Regions from separate parts of the Homo sapiens genome. Here regions 1, 2, 4, 5, 6 and 7 are each linked to region 3. The links are contacts of gene promoters, found by promoter capture Hi-C in blood cells and fetal thymus (Javierre and others, 2016). All regions are on one chromosome and are shown on one strand. Each heading gives the region's core, a stretch centred on a gene start or on the middle of the fragment in contact. The rest is flanking DNA. Distances are from core to core; before and after follow the strand shown. Region 1 overlaps LOC124904265 (a long non-coding RNA gene). Region 2 has its middle 170 kb from the start of CTAGE1. Region 3 holds the start of GATA6-AS1 (GATA6 antisense RNA 1 (head to head)). Region 4 has its middle 230 kb from the start of CTAGE1. Region 5 overlaps LOC124904265 (a long non-coding RNA gene). Region 6 has its middle 63 kb from the start of CTAGE1. Region 7 overlaps LOC124904262 (a long non-coding RNA gene).

Region 1 (3,368 bases), core at 636-3,135, 380 kb before region 3:
TAGGGTGGGCTCACCCTCAAATGTAAAATGATATTGATATGCAACATCAAATGTACCCTTGAAATGAAAGACTGATTTGTGTATTTCCTTTTTAATATTCCGACTCATACATGTTGCCATTTCTACTCACTAGTTACCCTGGAGACTATGTTCTGAATGCTATTATATAAACATTGAAAGATATCTTTATTTAACCAATCAAACATTGGAAGGAAGCACTAGCTCAGTCAATCCTGCCAAGCCATCACAAGGAGATCCTGCTGTAAGAAGGAACTGGGTCGATCTCAGGGGCTAACCCAAGGTTAGGCTTCAGGCTATCTGTGAATTTGCATCTCCTCCTTGGAGAAAGGATCTTGTACTTTTTGGATTCACTGCACTGGGGAGTGAAGTGAATCGCTAAACCTCAAGGGCACATCCAGAGACTAACTAATTAATCCCAGCATTAAGGGAAGACCTGTCCACATTCCGTACACTGGTGAGGCTCATTATATGGTGTATGTAGATGCAATTCATGAACTGGGATATGAAGTCGTGGCAACTTAATCTTGACAGTGTTGTAATGAATAAAGCATGTCCAAAGCTTGGTAGGTTAGGTGATACCTCTGCAAAGCATCACCATGAACCTACCAATGGAAGCACGTTTTAATTGTGTTTGGCTTCTTGTATCTCAGCTTTAGATCATGTAACCTGTGGAGAGCATCCATTGGTTGACATGTTTTGCTGAGTTATTTTGTAGTTTATGAGATGTGGAAGAAAGAAACTCGGCTCCCAGCTATTACCTAAGATTCACAGGGCTTTGCTCAATTTGCAAATGTTCTTTCTGTGGTTGACTTCATTAGCTTCTCTCCACCCCAGTTTTGGCTATTCTTAGAAGGGGAATTAAATCATTGAAATCCAAGCTTCTCAGGTTTCCCTGCCCCCAGGGAGAGTAGATTTAGAGTGTTCATAAGAAAATCAACTCACCCCTAATCAACTGGCTCAAAGAGACTCAAAGTGTTCCCCGCCCCCCGCCTTTGACAATCCTTCCAATAAAACTTCTTCACTTCTTCTGTCTTTAGGTGGGGAGCTCTCTCAGAAAGTTCACACAGTGAGTGTGGTTTGTGCATTCAATATTAAGATCTAATCATTGTCTCTTGAGGGCTGAAGAATGAAAACACTGGATAAGAGCCCACCTCCTGGCTTCACGCTTGTCAGGACCAGGATCTATTAACCTTTTAAAGAAATACTGATAATAAAAAGCAGACAAAGAGAGCCATGTGAATTGGCATCTAATCAATAATGTTCTGAGTTTTTTCCCCCTTAGGTTACTCAGAGCCGCGTGAGCAAACAAGATTTTACTGTTCCAAGCCCTGCTGTCTTGTGCATAATGCATAACTCTCTTGCACGCTCCCATTCTCTTCTGAGACATTTTATTATTATTATCATCATAGAAGAGGTCAGATTCCCTTTAATTAAAGGATATACAAGTCAGAAACTCCCCACCTCACTTTCCCCAAAATTAAAGAATTGCAAGGCTGGGTTTCCCTCCCATTGCCTCCTGGCTGGGCAGGACCCCAGTGGTAGGAGGTTGGGAGGATGTGGTACAAGGATGTGGTGTGAGGACCTGGTGCTGGGACCCGTGCCACCACGCCCAGGCAGCTGCTTTCTTTTTCTGCATTAGTTCCTCATGTTATTTGACCTAGAAACTTTGGATGTGGACTGCATCACATTTTTGGAATGATACATTTTACTCATTAAACCTTTTGCCCTATAGTTGATTTATTTCTCCTGGGCTAAAATTGGACTCATCCTGAAACAGGCGTCTTTGGCACAGCAGAAACTTCAGCACTAGCGAGTCTCCTCATAACTGGTGTCATGGGATGTTCTGGTTTACCCTTAGTTTACTTCCCCTGTCTGCCATCTCATCCACCCCTCCAGCCCTTCTCTCCTGCTCTCTCCAAATTCGGTCCCCACCCTTGACCCCTACTACATATATCACCGAAAGAAGAAATGCATAGATGACTCTTCCTGAGCAAAGTCGATTCCTTATTTCAGCATGGGTGTGCCTGATTTCCTAGGTGCATGCCAGGCAGCCCAAGAGTGGCATTGGTTTTGACCTGTCATCCTTAATCTCCACCGATGGGGTGTTTTGAAGCACTGCCTAGCCAAGTTCACCTTGGTGGACCCTTTAGGGGAGCACTATGATGCCAAAAGAAATCACACAACATGAGGAAGAGGCAAATGAAAGGTAAATGGTAGTTTACAAGGACTTCTATTTTTCCATTAAAAACACAAAAAATCTATGTTCCAAGCTAGGACTTGAAATAGGTGTGGTCAGTGCCATTGGCCAGTCTCTGCGATAAATTCTCCTCTTAAGAAAAAAAGAGTAGGAGATTATTTAAAGCACCCACTTACTCTCACTAAGTTCAGATCCTCTCAAAATTAGACCAAGAAAAATCCATTTCTATATCAAGCATGCCTTCCAGAATGAACTTAAATGTACACAACTTTCCAGGCCCGATCTGAAATCCTGTTTGAATTCCAGCCAGGCCTTGACCCCAGGGGATGTGAGGAACAGGAGTGGCGAAACCAGTTATTGTCTATTTCGTTAGATGCTGGAGTTGAATTTGGGAGCATGATTAATGCTAGCTCCTTCTTCCCCTCCCTCCAGCCAAACGCTCAAATCACCCAGGCTTCTTGCAGGATAAACATGTCTGCTAGTTTGTTCCCAGGAATTCTCCTATAGTTTTCCTTGTAATATATTAATCTGCCCCTTTCATCGCCTTTCCCCCAACTTAACTGGCACCTTGCCCCTCCACTCTTTACCTGTTTGAACCTGGATTTGAAGGCTTGGATCCTCTTGGGAGTCTGTGCACATTTGTCAAAGCTTAGTCAAGGTCCCCCCAAGCCAGAATGGAGTTTGCTTTTCCTGTGTTTATGCTCTATTCCCAGGACCTCGCTTGTCTGTTTCTGGTGCTCAATCATTATTCCTGTGGAAGAAAGTAATTTTTAATAGTTTCAATAACTATTTAAAGAACCTGAACGAATATCCACATTTTAAAAGAACCCAGGCCTAATGTGTCCTCTTTCCCCAACCACTTCCCACAGTCACCCAACGTTTAGGGAGAGCCTTTGATGAGGCAGCAGCTTGGCTGTGTCTTCACTACACGATTCTATTCAATCTCACCACCAGCCTTTATGCAGGACTCTGCACATGGCAGGCTCTCGATAAATGGGCTCTGGTTAAGTGGACTACCTTATGGAACAGAGTTATCAGTATCAGCTGAACCTTTTTATTTTATTTGTTGAGACATGGTCTCACTGTATCACCCAGCCTGGGTTGCAGTGGCACAATCATGGCTCACTGCACCCTCAACTTCCTGGGCTCA
Region 2 (3,431 bases), core at 470-2,969, 420 kb before region 3:
GAACTGACACAGCTTCCAGAACAGCAAAGGGGCACACGCTGAGAGACTTCTGGTGATTTCTGACAGCTTGACCAGACATGTCCCTTCCTTGCAGAGACTATGTTGTAACATAAGCTTATGGTCTTTGTTTTGCATGAATGCCTTCTAGATTAGAAATTCATGAACATGTAAATCATGCCCCTGCCATCCAAAAGGGAAAGAAACAACAGGTAGTTATAACTACCCATCTACCCTTACTACCTTGGGCTCTCCTCTTGGCATATACTTCATTTCCTTCTTACTTTTACCACAGGATCCTTGGAAAGAATAAGAGAAACCACTTCTCCTCTTTGAGTTACTTAATGCCATGTTTTCTGGTTCTTTCCTGCCCCCTTTTCTCTCAAAAAGAGATTCAAAATTTGAACCACTATGATATCATACTACTAAATTTCTCACTAAATATACAGTCAGTTAAAAAACAACATATTCTTGAATCTAGGAAAAAAGCCACCATTTGAAATTGTCCTTCCTTCCTAGATTTATTAATGCCTGTATATATTTAAGTCTGTCCTGGTTATAGACATGGAGCTACAGGTATTCTGTTCATTATTCAAACCCACCGGTATTTTGTTCAATACATGCATCTTTCTCCCTGTTTTGTAGGTCTCAGTGAAGGAGATAAAAAAGTGGTAAAGTAAAAATAATAGAGAGAGTGAAGCCAAAAAGACTAGAGGTAGTGGTCAGAGAGTGGCCATCCTTAAAACTGTGGTGCTGGAGGAGGTGCTGTTAAGGTGTTTAGAAAGTCTAGGGTGTTACCATGAGGGTGAGTGTCTGAGGACAGAGGGAGAAGATCACTGGATGAGGGGAGGTGGAGGAACAGAATGGCCAAGATGTTGAAAGGATCATCTTTGTGGCTCTTGAAACATCAATAATTATGATGGGCATATTAAAGAAGTGACAGCAAGGGAAAAGGAAAAACATCAGGATATTTGTGACCAGGAGTGGTAGGCAAATGCAACAATGAGAAGGGTGTTAAAGCCTGAAAACAAGACATTCTAGGCTGGGAGTTTCAGGGAAGACAGAAGACAGAAGAAGAAATGACAACACAGGCCAGGCGCGGTGGCTCACGCCTGTAATCCCAGCACTTTGGGAGGCTGAGGCGGGTGGATCACGAGGTCAGGGGTTCGAGACCAGCCTGACCAACATGGTGAAACCCCGTCTCTACTAAAAATACAAAAATTAGCTGGTCATGGTGGCGGGCACCAGTAATCCCAGCTACTCAGGAGGCTGAGGCAGGAGAATTGCTTGAACCCGGGAGGCGGAGGTTGCAGTGAGCCGAGATCGCGCCACTGCACTCCAGCCTGGGCGACAGAGCAAAACTCCATCTCAAAGAAAAAAAAAAAAAGAAAAAAAAAGAAATGACAACACAGAGCTAGGAGAACCCCTAGCTCACCATATGCCTCATGGTAGAAGGATGTGGGGAGAAAGTGTCCCACCAGGAGAGGGCTGCAGGGTCCTCAGGTCCTTTTAGAGCAAAAACTGAAGGGGACTTTCAGAGAAGAAGCTGAGGGTTTGAGGATTTTGCTGGAGACTGTCCAAGAGCCATAGAGGGAACAGTGTAAAGGTTTCAGCAGTTGGAGAGGGATGAGACACAGGGTCAGAAAGAAAGTTAGAGTACAGGGGATGAGAGATAGCTTGTGGGTCCTGGGCTTCTTGTGGCGATGGATGTGAACACATAAAGGTGTAATGAAATTGTTTCTGATGGTCTTTCGGCCTATACTGGCGGTGAGGCTCTGAGAGTTGTAGGGAGGGTGGGGATGGAGTGGGAAGCATGGCCACAAACAGGCAAAGCCTTGGGCCTTCTTTTGATTCCTGTCTATGGTGAGCAGGAACAAGGAGAAGAAGGAAAGGGTGGTCTTATCTGGAGCACGAGGGGTTCAAAAGTATCTTTGTTTTTTTTTTTAAAGTATACTTTATCTTAAAGTGTAGAAATGCATGTAGAAAAGTGCACAAGTCATTGGTATTGTGATTCATAAGGTGGAGAACCTGTGTAACCCAACAACCAGGTGAGAAAAGAGAGCATCATCAGTATCCCAGAAGCTCCTACACAGCCCCACACAGCCCCTCCCAGGTAATAGCCTCCCCAAAAGTAAGCATTATCCTGACTCCTAAAACTATATATTAGTTTTGTCTTGTTTTGCATTCTGTATAGATGGAATTATGCAGTATATATTCTTTTGCTCAACATCATGTCAATGAGATGGATCCATGCTGTATGTAGCCAAAGTTTGCTCACTTTAATAGTGTTTGTAGGGTATTGTAGAAATATACCATAACTTTTTTCTCCCTTCCACTGTTGATGGATGTTTGGTTGTTTTCAGCTTTCAGTTGTTATGATCATTCTGGTACAAGTCTTTTACTGAACATATGTATGTATTTATTGTGGCTTAACCCTAAGAGATAATAGGGTATGTATATGTTCAGTTTTGTAGATACTGTCCGTTTCCCAAAGTGGCTGTGCAGATTTTTACTACCACCAGGTGTATAAGAGTTCCAGCTGTTTTTACAGTAATCTTAAATACCTTGTCAGTACCTATGAAGATGGTTATACAATTTTCCTCTTTTGATCTATGAATGCTGCTAATTAAACTGATAAACTTGCTGATGTTGAAACATCTTTACATTCCTGGAATACATCTACTTAGTTTATGTTGTGTTTCTCTGTTAAGTGGCTAGATTTTATTCACTGATGTTTTATTTAGAATATTTCCATTTATACTCATATCTGAGATTTATCTGTAGTTTTTGGTTGTGTGTTATTTTTGTTAGTTTTTGATACTGATTTTATGCTAGATTTATGAAAATAATTTGGAAGTGCTCCTTCTAAGTTCTGAAACCATTTAAATAGCATTGAAGTAATCTATTTCTGAAAGCCTTGGAAAAATTTTCCTCTGAAACTGTCTAGACCTGGTGCTTTCTTGGGTGAGATATTGGGGGATTAGGGAATTGGATGAAGGTAAAGTTCTTTTGCAACTTGCTATATTTCCTTTATGGTAATTGGTCTGCTTAGATCTTTCATCTCTTCTGGTGTCAGTTTTTGTAAACTACATTTCTTTATGAAAACATTTCATTTCCTTTTGTTTTTCAAATGTGTTTTTTAGTCATGGGCAATGTGGTTTCTTTGGATTCTTTTAGTTTACTTGGTTTTTGTGGTTTGTTTCACTTTTATGATATTTAAATTGTTATTTGTCCTTTCTTCCACGTATCTTGAATAGATTAGCTAACAGGTTATTCATTGTATTTATGTTGCAAAGAATTAGCAGTTACATTTAATGATAAGCTTTATTTTTTTCTATGTTTTCTAATTCTTTAACTTAGAATTCTTTTTTTTCTTTTTTAAATTCTAGGGTATATGTGCAGGATGTGCAAGTTTGTTACATAGATAAACATGT
Region 3 (3,193 bases), core at 1-2,500:
GAGAAAAGGAGGGGGAACGCAACGGGCTGGGGAGGGGGGAGCGTGAGACCGCCCCAGAGCCGAGGCGACCCCAAATGGGAGAGCAGGAAGAATGACAGGGAGACTCGGAGCGAGTGGGGGAGGGAGGTGAAATGCAGCCGGGCTGGCCTCCTCCAGGCTGCTCTTCCAAATCGCCTCGGCTCATCGGAGATTACCACACTAAAATTAATGCCCACACACAGACCTGGCTAGATAGCAAGAAAGAAGTTTCTCTGCCTGCCTAACTACCGGCTCCCGCCCCTTTGCGCCGAGATAACTCGGAGATAAGGCTGCGCGCAGATAAGCGCTTCGAGGAGAGAAAAAGAGACTAGAAGTTGGTCCGCGGTGTCCCGGGAGCCTGGGAGCCGCCTCAGCCCGCCCGGAGGGAAGGAGGGAAACACCGTCGGAGCCGACCGCGGCCTGGAGAGGGCCGGAGAGCCGGAGGCCAGGGGCCCGCGACGAGTAGGGGTGGAGGGGAGGAAAGCGGGGAGATCGCGCGAGGAGGAAGCAGCCGAACCTCGGGCGGGCGCTGCGCATGGAGAACGGCCGCGGCGGAGGGTGCTCCCAGGCGCGGAGAGAAGCCGAGGGCGCCAGCGGGCGAGCGCGAGTCCGGGGTCTGCGCCGCGCTGCTGGTGAATAAAAAGGAGAGAGGAGGCGCCTCTTACTGCTCTGCCGGAAAACTGCAGCCTGGGCTCCTGATTGGACTCACCGAGCCCTAAACAAACAGCGCTCGCCGAAGGGTGCCAGGCTGTGGGTCGGAACTGCGCTCAGCGAGCAGCTGGGCGCTGGAGGTGAAGAGGAGGAGGAGGGATCGAGGGGAGGAGAGAAAAGAGGGTGGGGAGGGGACGGCGAGGGGGGAGGGGAGCGCGCCGCCCAGGCAGACAATGAGAGCCGCGCTGCCTGCGGGCGTGGGCTGAGCCGCAAGCCCTGTCCCCGGAGTGGGGGCGAGTCCACCCGGGGGGCACCGAGCCCAGGGACCCCGGGGGAGGGGCGGAGGCCACAGAACGCCTGACCTGGCTAGCGACCCGCACCCATCCAGCGGCGGTGCACCCTCCCGCTCCCGCAGTCGCACACACACACCCACACGAGGGAGGGGGAGGGAGCCTTGGCACGGGAGGAGTTGGCAGTGCACAGTCCCGCGCCGCCGCCGCGGCGGGAGGGGCGCTCCAGACCTTGGGTCAGCACGCCCCCAGAAGGAAGGGGGAACGTGCTCTGCGCCCCCCCGCCCCCCAACCCCCGCCTAGCCCCTTCACAGCAAATGCGCTTTTTGCCCTGAAGTTGTGTGAGACCGACCTTAAACTTTCTCCGACCCTATCTCGGGATGCTACGGCTCAGGTCGTGGTGGTTTCGGGAACCTCAAGACAACATTCCCCAGCTGACCTTTGGGAACTTTAACTCGGGTCGTCATGTACGGAAAGGTAGTCTATGGGGTACGCAGAATGGAAAAGGGCTTCCACATCAGTCGTGTCCGAGGACGCTCTCCAACTTTTGATGTCCCTGGAGAGTTTCTGATATTTCCCTGGAGAGTTTCAGGTAAGTCACAGATAAGTCACTGCGAAGAGGGGGTGTCACCTTCCCTGGACCCAGCGCTAAATGCTGCTTCCCCACCCCCACGTTCATATACACACCCCCTCTTCGCTCCCTCCAAACAGTTATCACAACTCTGTACAAACTGATACGGTCCCTAGCGGGCAAAAGGGACTGGAAATGAACGTCGCGGGGTTATCAGCGCCGATCTGTCAGCGGCAACTCGCGCGGCCGCAGGCTCGTCCGCTGCAGGAGCCGTGATATATGTCTCGCTCCCTTTCGCTTACAGAAAGGATTTCTTCCGACAGACGTGACCCCAGAAGGCTGCCGAGGGAGACTTTAGGACAAGAGGCGTTGTTTTTGTGAGAATGAATTTTTATACTTTACCCCGACCCCACCCCCTACCCCCCGCCCAGGTAAATCCAAGTAAATGATTTTCTGAAGGTCGGTCTCCTAGAAAGCGTTTAGGCTCTGGTTTTTTGTTTTGTTTCTATTTTCGTGTTTTCCCAGTTAGGGAAGGAAGAGGAGCCTGTGCAGAGTTGAACTGGGGTGGAGAGGTGCCTTGTAAAGTATGGTTTCCAGAGATGGTGAGACCTCGTAGCTAAGCGTTGTTTCCTCTGCACGTAACTGTGAGTTGTGAACTTGTGGCTCCTGGGGGAGCGGGACAGGGCCTGGCAGTGCGGGGGAGGGGGCAAGGAATTCAGGAAGTTGGCGAGAATTCTTCGTTTTTCATTCTTCGTTGTAAATTGCTTCTAAACACTTCTGAATTTTAAATTGCTACCGAGAAGGTCCAGAAACCGTTCTCATCCAATTTAGTCACTTTTATTACGTTCCACTTTGCCTCCCCCAATCACTGCGGCGGCTCCCAGTTTCAGCGTGGCCGCATTTGGAAAAGGCTGAAGGTAGAAAACTCTGGAATGGAGAGGCTGGCGACTGGAGCAGGATCCAGGGGCTTTAAATTTTAACCTGAATGCGATCGAATGCGCGACTCCCAGAAGAGATAGCCAGGCGTCCGCCCGGCCGCTCAACCCCCGCCAGGACTCGGAATGCCTTGCTTTTGGTTCTTTTCGTGAGTTCCGACCAAATGTTTAAGTGGACTGGGTTTTGCAGAAGCTCATTTGTAAGCACTGACGGAAATGGGTTGTGGGCATTTGATTTCCTTTGATTCCAACGTTTTGAAATAATGTTTCTCGGATTTGCTATTCGAAGCAATTTTCTAAAAACTCATATCTTATTTGCTAAAAATAAACTCTTTGGCTCAGTTTGTGTCCAGGCTGTGTACGGCCTCCAACCCTGAGCCCCGAGGAGATCGAGCCCTGGCGCGAGCCTGATCTCTGTCCTGTGTGTTTCTTTGTATTTGCAAGTACAAGGATGTCTGCGTGGATATCCCTGGACACTCGATACCCCCCGGGGACCTGCTTTTCCCGCAGCTCCGCAGACGCGGCGGGAGGGCGCGCTGGCCCCGGCGCTGCTGGGACAGAGGTGAGCAGCGGGGTGGACATTGACCGATTCGACAACGTTCGGGCTCTAAGGGCTCGGGAAGGGACCCGGCATTTTACCCTCCAGATTCCCAATCTATTTTTAAAAATAATGTTCAAAACATATGGGAAAAATAAGTGATTGCTCCTTTTCATGGTCACAGATTGTA
Region 4 (3,418 bases), core at 217-2,716, 480 kb before region 3:
TTATTCAATTGAGGTTATGATAAACTAGTGTACACATACTGCAAATTTAAGCTGTCCCTACCAGCTTGTTAGCCAGTTTGTGTAACCAAACTTTACATAGATGATTTTTGTTAGGAACTCTAGCATTGCCACAGTTTGCAGTCAATATTGAATGAGGCTTCTCAATTCTTGCTCTTTTCTTTCTTAGCTGAGTCAGCTATGATATTAGTCAAATAGCTGCCTAAAATTAATTTCCAAACGGTAATCATACTTGATCTTTAAAGGAAAAGATTAACACTGAAACCAACATGTATGTTGGTCCTTACAACTTTAGATATATGTGACTTCGTGAAAAGAATTCCCATTTTAATTAATTTGCTAAGGGTTATTAATTAATCTGTACTTATGTCTTAAGTTAAAGTGGAGATGATAGAAAATAGATAATAGATAACACACAGTATATGTTATTTCTATTATATAATTAATGCACAAATATATGCATATATAATATATATGCAGACAGAAGTTTTGATGGCATTCTTAGCACATCATAATACTATTGCCCATATAATTAGTAGTCCCCCCATTTTCGACTTAAACTAAAATTGCATTTTGAATTGTGATTCAGACTTCTTTCTGCTTACCAAGAAAGAAAAAATAGACATCCATATTCACCGGAATAGAGAAATTTGTATCAAAGTGTGAGGAAGTAAACTCACTGTATTTGTTTAAAGAGAGAGCAAAGGGTGGTAGATCATTTTAGTCAGGCTGATATAAAAGATGCCTTCCAAGGACACAATTAACAAATACCAAGATGCTTAATTTTAAACTACAGCACCTACCTGTAGCTTGTATATTTTTATACTACTTTATTGACTAAATCCAGTACATATTTTCCTTTAAATTACTTGTATTCATTTTTAGAGTTATTCCAATTCTGAGTATTTTAATTCTATTATAAAGTGTAAAATCTCTTTTTTTTTTTTTTTTGAGACAGCGTCTCACTCTGTTGCCCCGGCTAGAGTACAGTGGCGCGATCTCGGCTTACTGCAACCTCCGCCTCCTGGGTTCAAGCAATTCTCCTGCCTCAGCCTCCTGAGTAGCTGGGACTACAGGCACGCGCCACCATGCCCGGCTAATTTTTATATTTATAGTAGAGATGGGGTTTCACCATATTGGCCAGGCTGGTCTGGAACTCCTGACCTTGTGATCTGCCCACCTCAGCCTCCGAAAGTGCTGGGATTACAGGCGTGAGCCACCGCGCCCGGCTAAGTGTAAAATCTCTAAGCAGAAAATTTATGACTTTTTCTGATAAATGTGTAATAATGATCCAGGCAACTTTGATTTAGTAAATAAATAATAAGCTTTTATTCTATTGTATATAATTCTTTCATAGAATTCTTGCAGAAAGGGAATGATTCTCAGGAAAGAGATTTGAGTTCTTCCCTGGGAAGGTAATGCATTTCACCTACTCTTCAGTTAAGTTATGGATTTACATTCAGCAAGAGTAAATAGTGACACATTTTCTATCTTCTTATTCTGTCACTGTGCTAGGTTGTCTCAAGTAGAAAAATTATCCTCACTTTAAAAATAATTATGTAGAAGCTTGACTTTGGCATAAGTTAAAATTTTCCCAGATCTCAGCTATGACAGTTAGCATTCCTCCAGTTTGAAAGTTAACAAAAGTCTTGGCATTTCTCTGTAAGGAAAAATGTAGGCTCTTTCTTCCTATTCAGTTTTCAAAGTACAGTTAGTTGACCCCTGAACAACTTAAGATTTTGGTGCTGACCCCCCACGCAGTTGAAAATCCACGTATAACTTTTGACTCCTTCAGAAATTAACTACTGATAGCCTACTGTTGACCAGAAGCCTTGCTAATAACATAAACAGTCGATTAACATATATTTTGTATAGGTATTATATACTGTATTCTTACAATAAAGTAAGCTACAGAATAGAAAATGTTATTAAGAAAATCATAAGGGCCGGGCACGGTGGCTCACGCCTGTAATCCCAGCACTTTGGGAGGCCGAGGCGGGCGAATCACGAGGTCAAGAGATCTAGACCATTCTGGCCAACATGGTGAAACCCCGTCTCTACTAAAAGCACAAAAATTAACTGGGCGTGGTGGTGCTTGCCTGTAGTCCCAGCTACTTGGGAGGCTGATGCCGGAGTATTGCTTGAACCCGGGAAGCGGAGGTTGCAGTGAGCCGAGATCGCGCCACTGCACTGCAGCCTGGCAACAGAGCAAGACTCCGTCTCAAAAAAAAAGAAAGAAAGAAAATCATAAGGAAGATAAAATACAGTTACGGTACTGTACTGTAGTAATCACAGTAGTAAGTTTACATCATCTGTTTACAAGACGAATTGTCTGTCTGAGATGGTGGGCAAGTGCAGCGGCAGACCTCATTCTACAGTAATATATCAAGCAGTTCAACGTTTTCTTGTAATGTTATGACTTTTCTTGTAATGTTATGACTTTTCTCTGTTCTTGGGAGCATTTCCAGCATGGCTAGTGGCACTACATATGGATCCCATGGTATTATTCAAGGTTTACAATATTGCACTAAACACAATGAAAGATACCTAGAACTTTGAGAGATCACTTTTTACTGTGGTAACGCAGTATACTGGAGAGATGAACTGTTCACGCAAAGATGATTAGTGTCACACAGGGTTTTAAGTGGATACTTGCAACACTTGAGCTCATCTCAACAGCAACAGGAGGTGGCTATGAAATTATTACAGTAGTACAGTGTGTAGCATGGTTAGCTTTATGCAGTTATGATTTAATACTACATCTTTATATTTATGTGAATGGTGCCATGTAGAGTGTTTGTGTACCTAAGTTTTGGTAAGTTTTAACATTTTATAATAAATTCGTATATATTTTATGGTAGTAAGTGATAAACTAATATCTACATATATTTTGTGCATTTGTGACGTACCTTTTTTCTTAATCTTTTTGATATTTCTAAGCTCTGCTTTTTGTCTGTGAGTTTTTTGAAATTGTCACAAATCTGCAAAAATTTTTCCAGTATATTTATTTAAAAAAATCTGCTTATAAGTGGATGCACACAGTTCAAACCCATGTTATTCAAGGGCCACTTGTAGTCTGGTTTCATATAATCATGGATTTTCAAGTTGGATGGAACTTTAGACATGATCTGGTTTAAAGCTATCATCATACATATGAAGACAGTGAATTTGAGGGAGATGATGTAATGCGTTCTGGGTCAAATGAATTAGTGGCTGAAATAGGACAGGAATCCAGAGTGGTTTTTTAAATTTTTTTTTAATTTCAAGTCCTTTTGATCTTTTCTTTTCTGAAGGATATGTGTGAACTAGATGACTTCAAGGTTCTTTCCAGCATTGGGATTTTGTGGAGGAGATTACAGTTGAGGAATTTTTATAAACTTGGCCTTGTTTCAGTTGTGGT
Region 5 (3,318 bases), core at 682-3,181, 400 kb before region 3:
AGGAGCACAAACTGTCTGCAGAGGGCTACACTTAGTAGATGAGGCAATTCACTCCACAGAACCTAGGGAAGGTCTGGGGAATAGGGCACCAGGTTCTAGCAAAAGTTCAGGGATGGATGCTAAAAATGGGAGGTCCCTTAAAAGTTCATATAGAACTATAGACCCCAGAATTGTTTCCATCAATTGATGCAGTCAGCTGAATGCACCCACCCCACCCTCAACAGGAGACAGGAGTTTAGGCCCTGAAGAGATTGAATCAGAAAGCTCTGAATTTGTGGCCAATTGGCACAAAGCAGGTAGAGATGGGCTGAGGGAAAGGAAAGCTAGGAACGAAGAGTACACCACCCCAGTCCTCTTTCCCACCATCTCAGAACGTGGCCAGGCCTTCACCCACAGCTAAGACCTTGGAATAGCCTTCTTCGGGTACCTTGAACCACCTGCAGGAGGGATGTGAAGGTACAGTTGCATGGGAGTACCTGACCACAATGCAGTGATGCCCAGTCATTCCACAGCGAGGCACTGCTTCCCACAGAGGTCTCAGTCAGGTGTTCAGTGCCTCATTCTTAAATAGAATTAGACAGCTAGCAACAAATGGCATTGAGGGAAGCCTGCACCAGGAAAGACAGTGTCCAAAATACACAGGAAAGCAAAGGAGCTTGAAGGAGACAGACATTGCAAGAGGAGAAGAAAACTTCTTAAAAGCAAACTATAATACTCTCAGAGACATGGTATCCATGAAACAGATGAGGGAGATATAAAAAGAACAAGAGTTGTAGTCAATTAAAAATATGATAGCAGAAATAAAATATTCCGTTAAAAGGTCAGAGACAAAGTGAAGGAACTCTTCCAGAAAGTAGAATAAAAACACAGAGATGAAAAACAAAAGGGAAAAGATGAGAAAATTAAAGAATCAATTCAATACCATACTAATGAGCATTATGGAAAGAAACAAAACAGGTGCAAATTATCTCTATATACATTTTTTTAATAACTAAGCAACCGGAGCCTTCCAAGTGTCAAACCAGTGAATTAAGAGAAGACTCATGCTATGGCACATCATTTTGAAACTTGGAATACAGGGAATAAAATAATATTCTAAACATTTCCAAAGATAGAGTAAAGCATCATCTGCAAAACATCAGGAATAAGGGCAGTGACCTTTCCATTTGCACCACTGAAAGCTGGAAGACAATGAGCAATGACTTCATGTTCTCAATAAAAATAATATTTTAACTTAAATTTGATACCCAGTGAAACTATCAATCAACTTTGAGGGTTGAATAAAGATATTTTCAGATATGGAAAGTCTCAGAAAAAGTTATGTCCCATGCATTTTTTTTCTCAGGAAGCTCTCAAAGGATGCGACACCAAGGGAATATAAGGGAGTATGCAAAGAAAAGAGAAGAGAGTATGCCAAGAAAAGAGAAGATGTGGAATCCTGGAAAGAAGGGATCTAATACCGCGGAGGTGCCAGGGGAAATACCAGGACAATAGCTGTGCAGGAGACCTACAGAGCAGCTAGGCAAACTGAAGCAGGTGGATAAGGGATGACTCCAGAAAAACAAAATGAAACTGACAGAACAATTTCTAGATTTGACTCTGGAAAATTGTATTGAGAGGCCCTTTACAAAACTGTTGGGGTGTGTGAAAAGATTTGGCAGGGGTGAAAAAAAAAACAGACCCCTAAGTGAATGAGAATACGAGACAACTATTAACTCCAAGAAAAACAAAAAGCTTTGCAAGAAAAATTAAATCATAAAACACGACTTTGCTGGAAAGCCCAGCAATATAGGAAACAACATGTTCATAGTCATAATAATGAACGTTGATTAGGGAGTGAACAAAAAATTGAGGTAGTAGAAAGGAAAGGAAAAGGGGTATGTAGAAGAACTGAAATGTTGTTCACCATAACAGATAATGTCCAAATAGATAAATCAAGTAATATAAGTATGTTCATTAGAAATACAGAAGTAAATATCAAAATAAACAGCTAAAAAAGTTGAAAGTGGTTGCCTTCAGGGTTTTAGAGAGAGAGAGAGAGAAACAGTGTCTCTGTGTGTGTGTGCACGCGAGTGTGTGTAAAGGGGAGGGAGAATGGAGTAGCTGCTGTTTTTTATTAAAAGCTTCTTAGCACAATCTGATTTTTAAATAATGTGTGTGAATTATAGTGACAAAAATTGTTTTAAAGCTATATTTGAAAGAAGAAAGTCTAGAAACATCATGTGTTAGTAGAAGTCTTCATTGACATAAGGTGAATAAATGACTATCAACCAAGAGTGGTTTCTACTTTTTTTCTTTTGGAGACTTTTACTAGCAGGCACCTAATTTCTGTGTTTTGCTTTTACTCATGAGTTGAACAGAGTGATGGATATATATCCATCGCTATAATATCTATGGATATTATATCAAACTTAAAACTAGATAATTACACTGTCTTAATAGGTGGAGTAAGACATTATTAAATCCAAAGACTCTTACTGTCATCATCACTTTAATATGAAGGTAAATAGTTATAAACTGCACTTGTGGTATATTGTGAATTTTTGTTGTAACAAACAAGATTTAATGCAAAAGAGCTCTTTTGCCTCAATCTCTTTATATTTTATTCCCTGTTTCTAAGGGCATTACATTTAAATAGCAGCCATAGCCTAATAATAATTTTGTATGCAGTAAATGTTTTAACATTCTCCTTTAAATTATGAATAAAGATAATCTCCTTTATGAACAATAAAGGAACTCATACATAACCATAAGCCATAAGAATGTTTTCCTTATTTCACTTCTTTCTCAATGGAAATTATAAAGTTGGTAATAGAAACTCTTTCCAGGAGCATCATAATTGCTAAACTTGGAATTGCAGGTACTCAATTGCAATCAGCTGAATGTCACACATGCCATAACTTTACGAGTTTGACTGGGGTCATGCAAAGATAATCAGGGTTATAACGCTAATGCTTTCATTTACTAGCTGGGTGACAATGATCAAGTAGGTCACTGCATGCTTTTCATCCTCCACATGCATATATATTAAAGGAGTGAGAATACCAGCTATAGCAAATAGTTTCTTTACATGCACCAACTTCAGTGAATGGTAGAGGCTACCCAGAGCTCTGTTTTAAGAAGAATTATGAGACTGTATATGTCTGTGTTCAATTAGAAATTGCTGAGATTGATTAGTTATGTCTGGAGATTGATTAGTTATGTCTGCCTTAAACAGTAACTAAGAAAGTGCCTATCCTGACTCCATGTATTTGTCAAGCCTAGATTAGATTGTCTGGAAGATTAACTTCAGGCTCAACATTATTCTATTCCAGCCTA
Region 6 (3,256 bases), core at 378-2,877, 310 kb before region 3:
TTTAGCCAACCTCTCCTTATCCCCCCTTCACACCCACAAAGGTTTCCCAGTCACTGGTATTGATGCAAGATAGGCAAACCCCCAAAACTGGGGCTTAGCCAGGGAGGGTTCTCGGCTTTGCCCAGGAAAGAATTCAAGGGCAAGCTGGTGGTGTCAGACAGCAACTTTTATTGAAGCAGCAGTGTACAGCAGAAGCAGAGGTACTGCTCCTTGCAAAGCAGGGCTACCCCAGAGGCAGTATGCCCAGAATGGCAGCTCAGAGGCAGTTCTGCACTCATATCTATACCCACTTTAATATATGCAAATTAAGGGGCAGTTTATGCAGAAATTTCTAGAATGAGGATAGTAATTTCTGGGTTGTCACCATGGAGAGGGGCAGTAACTACCAGGTGTTGCCATGGCAATGGTAAACTGACATGACATACTAGTGTATATGTCTTACAGAAAGCTGCTTTTGCCACAGACCTGTTTTAGCTAGTCCTCAATTTGGTCTGGTGCCTTAGCCCTGCCTTGGGAGTCATTTCTGCCTCCTACCTCAGTAGCTATCATTCTACTGTCTACATTCATGAGATTAACCTTTTAAGCTCCCATATATAAGTGACAATATGCAATATTTGTCTTTCTGGCTTATTTCACTTAAGATAACGACCTCTAGTTACATCCATGTTGCTGCAAATGACATGATTTTATTCTTTTTTATTGCCAAATAGTATTCCATTGCATATATATACCACATTTTCTTTATCCATTTGTCCACTGATGGACACTTAGGTTGATTCCATAACTTTGCTGTTGTGAATAGTGCTGCCAAAAACATGGGGTGTAGCTATCCCTTTGATATACTCATTTCCTTTCCTTTGGATAAATATCCAGTAGTGAGGTTGCTGGATCACGTAGTTCTATTTTTAGTTTTTTGAGAAATTTCCATACTGCTTTTCATAGTGGCTGTACTGATTTACATTTACCAATAGTGTATAAGAATTTCCTTTTCTTTACTTTCTCACCAACAACTGTTCATTTTTGTCTTTTTAATAATAGCCATTCTAACTGGAGTAAGATAATATCTCATTATTGTTTGATTTGCATTTCCCTAATGATTAGTGATGTTGAGCATTTAAAAATATACCTGTTGGTTATTTAATGTTTTCTTTTAAGAAATGTCTATTCATGTCATTTGGCCACTTTTTATGAGTTTATTTGTTTATTTTCTGTTGAGTTGTTTGCATTTCTTGTATATTCTGGATATTAGTCCCTTGTTTGATTTATAATTTGCAAATATTTTCTCCCATTTTATAGGTTGTCTCTTCACTCTGTTTATTGTTTCCTTTGCTGTGCAGAAACTTTTTAGTTTAATATAGTCCTTTTTGTCTATTTTTGGTTCTGTTGTCTGTGCTTTTGAAGTCTTAGCCATAAAATCTTTGCCTAGACCGATGTCTTAAAGTGTTTCCCCCAAGTACTCATCTAGCAGTTTTATAGTTTTAAGTCTTACATTTAAGTCTAATTCATCTTGAGTTTATTTTTTTGTATCTATGGTGAGAGACAGAGATCTAGTTTCATTCTTCAGCATGTGGCTATCCAGTTTTTCCAGCAATATTTATTGAATAGAGTGTCCTTTCTCCAATGTATGTCCTTGGTGCCTTTGTTGAAAGTCAATTGGCTGCAAATACATCAATTTATTTCTGGTTCTTTACTCTTTTCTGCTGGTCCATGTGTCTGTTTTGATATCAATATCATGCTGTTTTGGTTACTATAGTCTTGTAACATATTTTGAAGTTAGGTGGTATGATGCCTTCAGCTTTATTCTTTTTACTCAAGATTGTTTTGTCTATTTGGTCTCTTTTTTGGTTCCATAGAAGTTTTAGGATTTTTTTTCTATTTTTGTGAAAAATGACAATGGTATTTTGATAGAGACTGCATTGAATCTGTAGATGTGTTTGGGTAGTATGGTCATTTTAATGATATTAATTATTCCAACCCAAGAACATGGGATGTCTTTCTATTTGTTTGTGTTCTCTTTAATTTCTTTCATTAGTGTTTTGCAGTTTTCCTTGTAGAAATATTTCACTTAACTAGTTAAATTTATTCCTAGGCTTTTAGTTAGTTTTTTCTGTAGCTATTGTAGATAGAATTACCTTCCTGATATCTTTTTCATCTAATTCATTATGGGGGTATAGAAACACTACTGATTTTTGTTTGTTGATTTTGTATTCTGCAACTTTGCTGAATTTATTTATTACCTCTAAGAGCTTTTTGGTTTTCTAGATATAAAATCGTATCATCAGCAAAGAGGGACAATTTACTTCCTCTTTTCAAATTTGGATGCCTTGTATTTTTCTTTCTTGCCTGATTTCTTTGGCTAGGACTTCCAATATTGTGTTGAATAGGAGTAGTGAAAGTAGGCGTTCTTGTCTCTTTTCAGTTCTTAGAAGAAAATCTTTTAGTTTTTCCCCATGTTAGCTGTGGGTTTGTCATATATAGCTGTTATGTTGAGATATGCTCCTTCTATGCCTAGTTTATTGAAAGATTTTAATGAAGTTATATTGGATGTTAATAAATGTTGTTTTCTGTGTCTGTTGAGATGATCATGTGGATTTTGTCCTTCATCTGTTGATGTAATGTATCACATTTATTGATTTGCATATGTTGAGCCATCCTTGCAACCTGGGATAAATCCCACTTGATCATGGTGTATTGTCTTTTTGATATGCTGTTGCATTTTGTTTGCTAGTAATTTGTTGAGGATTTTTGTCTCTATGTTCATCAGGGATATTGGCCTGTAGTTTTCTTTTTTGTCACATCCTGGTCTGGTTTTGTATCAGGGTGGTGCTGGCATTATAGATTGAGATAGGGAGAATCCCTTCTTTTTTAATTTTTTTGTAACAGTTTGAGGAGAATTGGTATCAGTTCTTTGTAAGTTTGGTAGAATTCAGCAGTGAATTTATCTGGTCCTGAGCTTTTGTTTTTTTGGAAGAATTTTTATTACTGATTCAATTTTTCTACTCATTATTGGTCTGTTCAGGCTTTTTATTCTTTCCTGATTCAATCTTGGTAGGCTGTATGTGTCCAGAAATAGATCCATTTCCTCTAAATTTTCCAGTTTGTTAGTGTATAGTTGTTTATAACAACGTTTGATGATCTTTTGTATTTCTGTGGTATCACTTGTAATGTCTTCTTTTTTGTTTCTAGTTTGGTTTATTTGGGTCTTCTCTCTTTTTTCTGATTAATCTAGTTAGGAGTTTATTGATCTTGTTTATCT
Region 7 (3,230 bases), core at 140-2,639, 440 kb before region 3:
GTTTTTGTTTTCTTGCCTGTTAATCCAAACCTCTAGCTATAAAATAATATTATTCTTGGAGATCTTAATTGTCATTATTTATGTAAGATTTATACCACATCTATTTCCAAAAAAATTTTTAAATACATTGCAACCTTATATACACTACAGAATAAAACATCTAGAAACAGAACAACACCCTTTTTTTCTGAAAATTAGACAGAGTTAGCAAATAGCTGACGGGCAAGCATATGTTATTCCACTCCAGGATGGAATTTAGTTTTGAAGTTTCTTTGCAGATGAGATAAAATTATAAGTGTGTGAAACTATATTATTCCCTTACCTATTGGCTTTAAATTGGATTTCCAAATTTAGTAGAACCCAAAAATGAGAAGAAAGTGTTTTTTAATAGACCTTGTAGATGATCTTTCAAGTTTTGACCTTGTATAAAGCATTAGATTAAGAAACAAAGTATAAAAAACAATTACTCTTCAGTACTTGTGTGCATGTGTTTTAGAAGGATAATGGCAGTGGGCACATTTCTGGACCTGCAGCATGGGTGGGGAAAGTTTCTCTTTTGTGGGAGGGATGTCTAAAGTTTTCTCTAATTGTTTTTAGAATACCTATTTTTTTTTTCTAGAAAGAACGTCGGTCCTGGCAGTCTTTCAGCCACAAAGCTTTGAGAAATGGGGCTAAATATTAATAATAACTGCTTGGATTATAATGAGGAATCAATCAAAACACATACTGTTGATGAAGATGCCTTGAACACCGTGGATGCTGTAGAATAAGGGATTATGACTACAGCAATTCTTGGCTCCCTTCTCTGTTTGTTTAAGGGTTACACAGGCTTTGTTTAATATCTCCGTGTCTCAGTCCTTTCGGTTGAAGCACAAGGCATGCTTCAGCCACCTGAGATTAACTGCTAAACCCTGCAGCAAGCCAGCATCTCCTCCCTGCTGCCTCTCATCCGTCAGGATCTGCTCTGGAAATGGGCCAGTGGTGACGTGTGGGAATGCAGCCCTTTGTGTTTGTTTTTGGTGTTGGATTTGGTGGCCTTGGTCACGGATTGGCTTCCTTCTTTGAAACTGAACATCTTCCATGCCTTTGTGATTGAGTGACAAAAGTTCAACCTGCACATGCCAAAATGAACAGCCTAGAAAACTGATTATGGTTTCAGGACCAGCTTTAAAAAAAAGCAACAAAACCCTTCCAGTCACCCAGAGTTCTAAACATAATCGGTTGGTTCCCAGAAGTACAATAAAAGGAAGCCAGAAGTATTTTAGTCCCTAGTTGTTTATGAATCAACCTGATTTTCTTTTTCAGACTTTGAAGGTCACAGAATCAAATCATGTGGAGCCATTTCCATCAGTCCTCCTACCCACCCTTTCTCCCCTGTTCTCTGTTGCAAGTAGGGTTTTGCTAGGTTTAAGTAGAACATTGCTCAGAATTTCCAGGGGTTCTTAATTAAAGCAGGTTTCTTTTCCAAGAAAGCTGCCTTGGAAATTACTGGAAGGGAAGCAACAGTGACAAGTAAAGCAGGCGTCAGAATACCTTCAGTGTACCCCAGCCCTGCTCCTCCCCTAGAGCACAGGCTCAGGAGTTCTGCTGGCCTTAGGTAGAAGCCAAGGAAGAGGGGCCTGCACTCATCTTTCTGAGTAAGCCAGGGCACTTCATGTCTGGGATAAAGCCAGCAGGGCATGGGACATGGCATGGAACTGAATTTATATAGGAAGTAGACAATTAAGCCTGAGTCTTAGACACACACAGGAAGGTGACAGAAGAAGAAAGAATGACGTTTATTATTTTCTAGAGATCTAATCTAGAGAGCTTCAGTGTCCTTGCCATAATGTGACCTTTAAGGAACACAGCAAAAATCTTGGCATATTGCTTGCCAAATATTCAGGCACCTATTATGTGCCAATATGAATAGCACATAATAGGTACCTGAATAATGTAAGTTCTCTTCCCCACCTTTCCCCCACTTTTCTGCACATTGAATAGGATGATTTTAATTTTGCTTTACAAATTATTCAGTTATATCTGTTGTTATTTCATAATGTAAACAATTTCATATTGCTTATATTTCTTTTTTAGGACTTAATGAATAGCAAGGAAATATTTTTGTAATTGATAAGCTTGTTATGCAATTCCAGAAACCTCCTTTCAATGCCTCTAACATCCACATGGTACACTCTGGCACAAGTCAAAAAATATATTAAAAATAAGAACTAAGAATTATCAGATGCCAACTATGTGCAAGGCATTGTATTAGGTTCTTTATCTTAGGTTTTCCATTTAACCCTCAAAACAACCCCAAGGGCGAGGACGAGTCTTTCCCATCTCCCTGTGAGAAAGTAGCTTCAGAGAGCTCTTGCCCAGGTCTCACTGTGAGCAGGTGGCAAAGTTGTTGCTGGAGTATTGTTTACTCAAACTCCAGGGTCCAAGTTCCTTCCACCTCACATAATGCCAAGGCTCTACTGTAGGTACAGGAAGCGAGAGCAAGAGATCTTCTCACTGCCTTCCACAATGTGGCTTCCTTAAAAGCATTTGAAGAAGGAGATGGATTCTACCAACTGTAGACAGCATCTCTGCTGGGGCCAGGCTGAGGCAGGACGGGTCTTGGGGGTGGAGTCAGGATACTCCTTTCTCATCCAGCCTCCAGCCAGCTGTTTGTGTTTGGATTTTTCTGGGGGCTAAGAAGTTTCCCGGTAAGAGACGGTGAACTGGGTCTTCAAAGGGGGTCCTGATGTACACCAGCTCATCTGGAGAACAAAATGGGGAGAGCAGGGCAGGGTGACAGAGGTCAAATTGCTGGGGAGATTCTCCGGATGCCTGAGAGAGGGATCGACCTAAGGAAGGGGGATTCAGGCAGTGAGTCCAACTTACCAACAAGGTTGTGGGGCTGAGAGAAGGTGTAGACCTTAGATTTTCTTGAATCTGCCCTGACCCCACCACTTTGCAGGGCTCTGTGCAGCCTGGAGTGGGAACGGCTGTCTGTGCATTAGGAGGTGCCACTCAGTAAGCCAGGCTTCAGCATCTTCCAGCCCATGCTGCCCTGCTGTGGTGCCTACTAGCAGCCGGGACCTCAGAGAGCAGGGAGCTACTCTTCTCACTTTGTAACCAACTGCCTGGAGTACCCAAGTGCCAGGAGGATTGAAACCGGCACCCAAGACTTCGCTAACATATCAGGGGAGGCAGAGATCAGCAGGAATGTGCCATGGCTGTGGCCACAGTGGTGGCGAACAAAG

What was found. The method cuts DNA at HindIII sites, captures the fragments that hold promoters and counts their contacts. A CHiCAGO score of 5 or more calls a contact.
Region 1: a fragment that was not itself captured here is called in contact with the fragment with the promoter of GATA6-AS1 in region 3 in 2 of 17 cell types (total CD8 T cells and endothelial precursors); the score reaches 5.8 in total CD8 T cells.
Region 2: a contact is called between a fragment that was not itself captured here and the fragment with the promoter of GATA6-AS1 in region 3, in 1 of 17 cell types (endothelial precursors). The highest score is 6.4, in endothelial precursors.
Region 4: a contact is called between a fragment that was not itself captured here and the fragment with the promoter of GATA6-AS1 in region 3, in 1 of 17 cell types (endothelial precursors). The highest score is 5.0, in endothelial precursors.
Region 5: a fragment that was not itself captured here is called in contact with the fragment with the promoter of GATA6-AS1 in region 3 in 4 of 17 cell types (endothelial precursors, total CD8 T cells, megakaryocytes and 1 more); the score reaches 12.5 in endothelial precursors.
Region 6: a contact is called between a fragment that was not itself captured here and the fragment with the promoter of GATA6-AS1 in region 3, in 1 of 17 cell types (megakaryocytes). The highest score is 5.1, in megakaryocytes.
Region 7: a contact is called between a fragment that was not itself captured here and the fragment with the promoter of GATA6-AS1 in region 3, in 1 of 17 cell types (endothelial precursors). The highest score is 6.2, in endothelial precursors.

Annotation. Positions count from the first base shown.
Region 1 is chr18:22,543,159-22,546,526 of GRCh38, reverse strand. LOC124904265 (a long non-coding RNA gene) reads right to left here. Exons shown (of 3, transcript XR_007066310.1): 2 at 2,806-2,969. Among named protein-coding and RNA genes, the nearest start is that of CTAGE1, 130 kb to the right of the region's middle. The HindIII fragment of the contact is 1,967 bases long and covers 902-2,868 here.
Region 2 is chr18:22,588,026-22,591,456 of GRCh38, reverse strand. No RefSeq gene overlaps it. Among named protein-coding and RNA genes, the nearest start is that of CTAGE1, 170 kb to the right of the region's middle. The HindIII fragment of the contact is 3,205 bases long and covers 117-3,321 here.
Region 3 is chr18:22,167,025-22,170,217 of GRCh38, reverse strand. GATA6-AS1 (GATA6 antisense RNA 1 (head to head)) reads left to right here and starts at 1,250. Exons shown (of 2, transcript NR_102763.1): 1 at 1,250-1,551; 2 at 1,835-3,193. It overlaps GATA6 (GATA binding protein 6), which reads right to left and starts at 629. Exons shown (of 7, transcript NM_005257.6): 1 at 536-629. RefSeq lists an enhancer at 2,481-2,984. The HindIII fragment of the contact is 8,900 bases long and covers 1-3,193 here.
Region 4 is chr18:22,643,910-22,647,327 of GRCh38, reverse strand. No RefSeq gene overlaps it. Among named protein-coding and RNA genes, the nearest start is that of CTAGE1, 230 kb to the right of the region's middle. The HindIII fragment of the contact is 241 bases long and covers 1,346-1,586 here.
Region 5 is chr18:22,567,870-22,571,187 of GRCh38, reverse strand. All of the region lies in intron 2 of LOC124904265 (a long non-coding RNA gene), which reads right to left. Among named protein-coding and RNA genes, the nearest start is that of CTAGE1, 150 kb to the right of the region's middle. The HindIII fragment of the contact is 389 bases long and covers 1,737-2,125 here.
Region 6 is chr18:22,479,387-22,482,642 of GRCh38, reverse strand. No RefSeq gene overlaps it. Among named protein-coding and RNA genes, the nearest start is that of CTAGE1, 63 kb to the right of the region's middle. The HindIII fragment of the contact is 6,192 bases long and covers 1-3,256 here.
Region 7 is chr18:22,607,583-22,610,812 of GRCh38, reverse strand. It overlaps LOC124904262 (a long non-coding RNA gene), which reads left to right. Exons shown (of 2, transcript XR_007066307.1): 2 at 620-1,259. Among named protein-coding and RNA genes, the nearest start is that of CTAGE1, 190 kb to the right of the region's middle. The HindIII fragment of the contact is 1,461 bases long and covers 659-2,119 here.